2 separate regions of the Homo sapiens genome follow, and region 1 is linked to region 2. Evidence: promoter capture Hi-C in 16 types of primary human blood cells and fetal thymus (Javierre and others, 2016). All regions are on one chromosome and are shown on one strand. The core of a region is centred on a gene start or on the middle of the fragment in contact, and the rest is flanking DNA. Distances in the headings are between cores, read along the strand shown. Region 1 overlaps MEFV (MEFV innate immunity regulator, pyrin). Region 2 holds the start of OR2C1 (olfactory receptor family 2 subfamily C member 1).

Region 1 (3,090 bases), core at 557-3,056, 110 kb after region 2:
CACCTCAGCCTCCCTAGTAGCTGGGACTACAGGAGCGTGCCACCATGCCCAGCTAATTTTTTTGGTAGACAGGGTTTCACCATATTAGCCAGGCTGGTCTCAAACTCCTGACCTCAAGTGATCCACCCACCTTGGCCTCCCAAAGCGCTGGGATTGCAGGCGTGAGCCACCGTGCCCAGCCATTTCTCTTTCCTTCCTTCCCTCCCTCCCTCCCTTCCTTCCTTTCTTCCTTCCTTCCTTTCTTTTCTTCTTGAGACAAGGTCTCACTCCCATCACTAAGGCTGGAGAGCAGTGGCACAGTCACAGCTCACTGCAGGCTCAGCTTCCTGGGCTCGGGTGATTCTGAGTAGCTGGCATCCTGAGTAGCTGGGACTACAGGCATGTGCTACCACTTCCGGCTACTTTTTTGTATTTTTAATAGAGACAGGGTTTCGCCATGTTGCCCAAGCTGGACTTGAACTCCTGGGCTCAAGCGATCCCACTGCCCCGGCCTCCTGAAGTGCTAGGATTACAGGCATGAGCCACCATACCTGGTCTATTTTTTTCTGTTGTTGCTGTTTTTATAATAGCCATTCTAATGGATGTGAAGGGATATTTTGTTGTGTGTGTTTTTTTTTCATTTATTATCTTTTTATTTCAATAGAAAGAAAGGGGTGTATAATCAATTTGACATAGATAATTCTAGTAGATAATATCAATGTCATTTTAAGTCCATTCTGAAAACTCCTTGTGGTTTTGATATCCATGTCTTTAAAGCACCCCAGTACATGACAGTCTGTGGCCAAAGTTGAGGACCAGCATTTAGACCTCTGAATCCAGGGAAGACTTTTCTTTGTGTAGCTCAGGCTGGGCTAGGTGTGCCCTGTGGAGAATGTAGTTCATTTCCAGCTCACGGGTACTTGGGCCACCCCCTCGCTCCGGCCTTCTCTGGTCAACAGTCTTTTGTCTCTAGGGCTAAGACAGTGCCTGTCCCTGAAAAGTGGACCACTCCTCAAGAGATAAAACAAAAGATCCAACTCCTCCACCAGAAGTCAGAGTTTGTGGAGAAGAGCACAAAGTACTTCTCAGGTAGATGGGCTTGGGAGAAGATTGGAGGTGCATGCTCACTTCCTCCCTAAGATCCACATAGCCCAGAGCCCCTCACTTCCCTCCTCTTCCCCTGGTCTTGCTGACCTGCCTTCAACCTCTCCTCCATCTGTCCCTGGCTGAGGGACCTAACTCCAGCTTCTCTCTGCTCCCTTTCCCACATTTTAGAAACCCTGCGTTCAGAAATGGAAATGTTCAATGGTGAGTCCAGCGGTAATGGTGTGTGCTGGCCTGGGGTTGTTGCAGTGTTCCCTTGTGCTGTTGACTTGAGGGGCCCTATTTAGAAGACAAAAAAAAAAACCAAACACCTGGAGCAAAGGTAGGAGAAAGGTCATGGCAGGCCCCCCAGGCTCTGTGCGTGACTCATTGACTGAGTTGACTCATTAGACCACAGTCCCCAACATGGCCTGGGTTCCTGGGAGGAACGGGATTATACCCAACATAGCATGCAGGGCCCTAAGCAGGGGGTTCCTTGTCTTTCCTTGTTGTCAGGACAGTGTAATTTAGCCCCTCTTAATGCTAATGCTCAGGATTTTTTTCCCTATCTGATTTTTCTCCGTAGTTCCGGAGCTGATTGGCGCTCAGGCACATGCTGGTAAGTGCCCAGATCAAGGCAAGTGGCCCTGGCCTGCTGGATCCCTGTGCTCTCCCCTACCACGTTCCAGAAGAACTACCCTGTCCCTGTTTCCTGCAGGTGGGGAGAACCCTGTAGGGATGTTGCCCATGGACCCCTACCTAGGTATTCAAATTTTCTTTGCAGTTAATGTGATTCTGGATGCAGAAACCGCTTACCCCAACCTCATCTTCTCTGATGATCTGAAGAGTGTTAGACTTGGAAACAAGTGGGAGAGGCTGCCTGATGGCCCGCAAAGATTTGACAGCTGTATCATTGTTCTGGGCTCTCCGAGTTTCCTCTCTGGCCGCCGTTACTGGGAGGTGGAGGTTGGAGACAAGACAGCATGGATCCTGGGAGCCTGCAAGACATCCATAAGCAGGAAAGGGAACATGACTCTGTCGCCAGAGAATGGCTACTGGGTGGTGATAATGATGAAGGAAAATGAGTACCAGGCGTCCAGCGTTCCCCCGACCCGCCTGCTAATAAAGGAGCCTCCCAAGCGTGTGGGCATCTTCGTGGACTACAGAGTTGGAAGCATCTCCTTTTACAATGTGACAGCCAGATCCCACATCTATACATTCGCCAGCTGCTCTTTCTCTGGGCCCCTTCAACCTATCTTCAGCCCTGGGACACGTGATGGAGGGAAGAACACAGCTCCTCTGACTATCTGTCCAGTGGGTGGTCAGGGGCCTGACTGAATGCCCAACACTGCATCTCTCTTCCTGCTTCTGGCCTTGTATCTTGCATTCACACTCAATAGTCACGGAATGCCGACTAGGTGCTAGCTGCTATGGGAAATGCAAAAATAACAAAATAGTTACTGTGCCCACGGAGCCTACCCGATTATAGCAGAGGTAAGTTAGGAACGAACATGTTAGTCAATCCGGGTGAAGACATGTACTGATGACACACCATGGATTTCAGAGGAGGAAGTACGGAGTCGTTGCATAATCCGCCCCTGGTGGGTGGCACTCTCAGGTGCTCCTGAACAGAAGATTTGGCCCTCATTTTCCCTCAGAACCCCACGGCAAGGATATATGTCCCCTTGTTCTCTCTGCTTCTGTCTTGAGGATATGGGAAGCCTAGAGAAACGCAAGCAGACTGGATTGGGATAGAAGTATTTGTGTACCTGGATTAATGAACTATGATTTTTTTTTTTTTTTTTTGAGACCAAATCTTGCTCTGTGGCCCAGGCTGGAGTGCAGTGGCACGATCTCAGCTCACTGCAACCTCCACCTCCCAGGTTCAAGCGATTCTCCTGCCTCAGCCTCCTGAGCAGCTGGGATTACAGGTGCGTGCCACCACACCAGGCTGGTTTTCTTGTATTTTTAGTAGAGACGGGGGTTTCACCATGTTAGCCAGGCTGGTCTCGAACTCCTGACCTCAGG
Region 2 (3,489 bases), core at 443-2,942:
GCTGTTAACAGAGTGAGACCCCATCTGTAAAAAATAAAAATAAAAATTAGTTAGGTGTGGTAGCATGTGCCTATAGTCCCAGCTACTCAGAAGACTGAAGGATTGCTTGAGCCCAGGAGTTGAAGGCTGCAGTGAGCTAAGATCATGCCACTCTACTTCAGCCTGGGCAACAGAGCAAGACTCCAACTCTTAAAAAAAATGAAGAAGAGACAAAAAGAGGTAGGCAAAGATAATGACAGATAGGGTAAAAACATGAATTGTTTGGGTCTTCATATGAAGTTAATAATACATGGCTTGATTTTATGGAATTATAGTAACATTATGTAAGATACTGCAAGTGGAGGTGCTTTGCTTAGAAAAGTACAGAATTCTGCAGAAATATAAGGCATATTAAATAACATGTGGGCAACAGAGACAGAGACAGTGAGACAGGTCTGTCACAGGTCAATAACCTCTGAGCCCTCAACAACATGTCTCCCCTGCTATCGGTAGTCCACAGTAGGATTTTTGGTAAATAAGTGTAGAACATTACGAATAACACTAACCATGTTCCCAACAGCTTAGGGCTGTCAGCTTAGGGCTGTCAGGAACATGCCTTGGTTTTACCGGAATTAGTATTCCTCATGTTCACCTGGCCAGAGAGAGTTAATGAGAAACGCATGTAGAGATGAAGACGCAATAAATAACGAAGGAGTGTTCTCTCAGCCAACTTCTCTTCCTTTCCCCAGCAACCTCCTCAGTGCGCCCTTCACTTCCATGTTCCGCAGCGTGTAGATGAGGGGATTCACCATGGGTGTGACCAACGAGTAGAACAGGGAAATGAACTTGCCCTGGTCCTGTTTGCTGTTCTTGGCCGGAAGCAGATACCCATAGCTGGCTGAGCCATAGAAGAGGAACACCACCAGCAGATGGGAGAGGCACGTATTGAACGCCTTTCGCCTCCCCTCTGCAGAGCGGATTTTCAGCACTGCCTGAGCAATGAGGCAGTAGGAGATCACGATGATGCTTAGTGGGACTGCAGTGAAGAAGGTGCAGACACCATTGAGCACAGCCTGGTTGAGACTTGTGTCGCCACAGGCCAGTTTGATCATGGCAGGCACCTCGCAGAGGAATCCCTCCACCCTCCGGTGCCCACACAATGGGAGCTGCAGAGTGAATGTTGACTGGATCACAGAGTTGCCCAAGCCACCCAGGCAGGCAATCACAGCCAGCAGCCAGCAGAGCTGGGGGTTCATGATGGCGGTGTAGCGGAGGGGCCGGCACACTGCCACGTAGCGGTCAAATGCCATCACCACCAGCAGGATGCACTCGGTGGCCCCCAGCCAAAGGAAGACATAGAGCTGGGTTATGCAGCCACCATAGCTGATGGTCTTGCCTGGTCCCCATAAATTGATCAGCATTTGGGGGACTGAACTAGTAGCGAAAGCAAGGTCCAAGGAGGAGAGGTTGCTGAGGAAGAAGTACATGGGTGTATGGAGCCGGGCCTCCAGGCGGGAAAGCAAGATGATGGTTGAGTTCCCAAGTAGGGTCAGCAAATAGGAGAAGAGGATGGCTATAAAAAAGATCATCTCCAGCTGGGGATGGTCTGATATGCCCATCAGAACAAAGCCCTGCAAGGAGCTATCATTCACCCCGTCCATCACTGGTTGTCTTCAGTCACTTGATGAATTCATTTAGCGCAAGCTGCTGGAAGAAAAGTCAAGAAAAAGCTGTTGGATGAGGTGGATTTGCATCAGGAACGGTCTAATAGTTCTCTGGGATCCATAGTTAAGTAACAACCTATTTTTTGTTTGTTTTTTGAGACAGAGTCTCTCACTGTCACCCAGGTTGGAGTGCAGTGGCACAATCTCAGCTCACTGCAACCTCCTTCTCCCTGGCTCAAGCAATCCTCTTGTCTCAGCCTCCCAAGTAACTGTGACCACAGGTGTGTGCCACCACATCCAAATAACTTTTGTATTTTTTGTAGAGATGGGGTTTTGCCATGTTGCCCAGGGTTGTCTCCAACTCTTGGGCTCAAGTGATCCATCTGCCTCAGCCTCCCAAAGTGCTGGGATTACAGGCATGAACCACTGCACCTGGACTCCAACTTACTTTTTAAGATTGCAAGCTTTTTTTTTTTTTTTGAGACAGAGTCTCGCTCTGTCACCCAGGCTGGAGTGCAGTGGTGCAATCTCGGCTCATTGCAACTTCCGCCTCCCAGGTGCAAGCAATTCTCCTGCCTCAGCCTCACGAGTAGCTGGGACTACAGGCATGCACCACCATGCCTGGCTAATTTTTGTTTTAGTAGAGACGGGGTTTCACCATGTTGGCCAGGCTGGTCTCGAACTCCTGACCTCGTGATATGCCAGCCTCAGCCTCTCAAAAAGCTGGGATTACAGGTGTGAGCCACCGTGCGTGGCCTAGATTTCAAACTTCTGTTGTAATCCCCATCTACTGTTGGTTACACACCGAATGGAAAAGTTGATTCCATCAGAATGTCAGGTATGAGCTAACACGGAAATGAAGGAAGTGCCTCATGATGACAAAACCAAAAGACCCCAAGAACTGAAGAGCCCTTCAGTTCAGAACAATGGCTATGACGGGATAGAGAGAGTTGACCATTAGAATTAGATGTGAAAGTTCTCAAAAACTTTCAGTCAGACTGAAATTTCAGTCAGGCATGGTGGCTCACACCTGTAATCCCAGCATTTTAAGAGGCTGAGGTGGGAGGATCTCTTGAGCCCCAGTGTTCAAGGCAGCAGTGAGCCCCTGTACTCCAATGCCTGAGTGACAGAGGGAGACCCTATCTCTTGAAAACAACAGCAACAACACATTTCCCCAGCCAAGATTCTGATACGCTCAGGGAAGGGGGGAAGCAGACACATTGTATTTGGAAAAGCTCCCCAGAATTTTCTGTTAAATTTCCTCTGCTCTCTTCTACATCCCTCCCCTCTGAGTTTTACCTCAGTGCTGGATCTAGAAAGATGATGTTTGAGGAATAACATGATGAATCTATAAAGTCACAGAAATAATGGAAAGAGTAGATACAGACTTATGCTCCAAATACAGAAGCTGGGAATGTACAATTTAAGAGGAGGTCAATGTAGAGCAAACAAAACTTCACTTAAGCTTAAATAAGTTTAGGTGGAAAAGGCAAAAGATATAAACAGAGGTTACACAAAAAGGGGTTAAAATAGTTAATGGGTATTCATAATTAGTAAGGGAAATTAGAAGATTTACAGAGGAGATCCCTCTTTTGAGGTATATAACTACTGTGTCCACGTCTAAATCATCAAATAATTCTTAACATCTCATGAGACCGGGTACAGTGGCTCACGCCTGTAATCCCAACACTTTGGGAGGTCAAAGTGGGCAGATCACTTGAGGCCAAGAGTTTGAGATCAGCCTGGCCAACATGGTGAAACCCCGTCTCTACTAATAATACAAAAAATTTGTCGGGCATGGTGGCGGGCGCCTGCAGCCCCAGCTACTCAGGAGGCTGAGGCAGCA

Evidence for each region. The method cuts DNA at HindIII sites, captures the fragments that hold promoters and counts their contacts. A CHiCAGO score of 5 or more calls a contact.
Region 1: a contact is called between a fragment that was not itself captured here and the fragment with the promoter of OR2C1 in region 2, in 1 of 17 cell types (megakaryocytes). The highest score is 5.5, in megakaryocytes.

What each region holds. Positions count from the first base shown.
Region 1 is chr16:3,242,451-3,245,540 of GRCh38, reverse strand. MEFV (MEFV innate immunity regulator, pyrin) reads left to right here. Exons shown (of 10, transcript NM_000243.3): 7 at 953-1,068; 8 at 1,255-1,287; 9 at 1,649-1,681; 10 at 1,847-3,090. The coding sequence ends at 2,400. Among named protein-coding and RNA genes, the nearest start is that of ZNF200, 8.8 kb to the right of the region's middle. RefSeq lists an enhancer at 1,020-2,219. The HindIII fragment of the contact is 4,878 bases long and covers 1-3,090 here.
Region 2 is chr16:3,354,092-3,357,580 of GRCh38, reverse strand. It overlaps OR2C1 (olfactory receptor family 2 subfamily C member 1), which reads right to left and starts at 1,692. Exons shown (of 1, transcript NM_012368.3): 1 at 275-1,692. The coding sequence starts at 1,640. The coding sequence ends at 702. The HindIII fragment of the contact is 3,889 bases long and covers 1-2,109 here.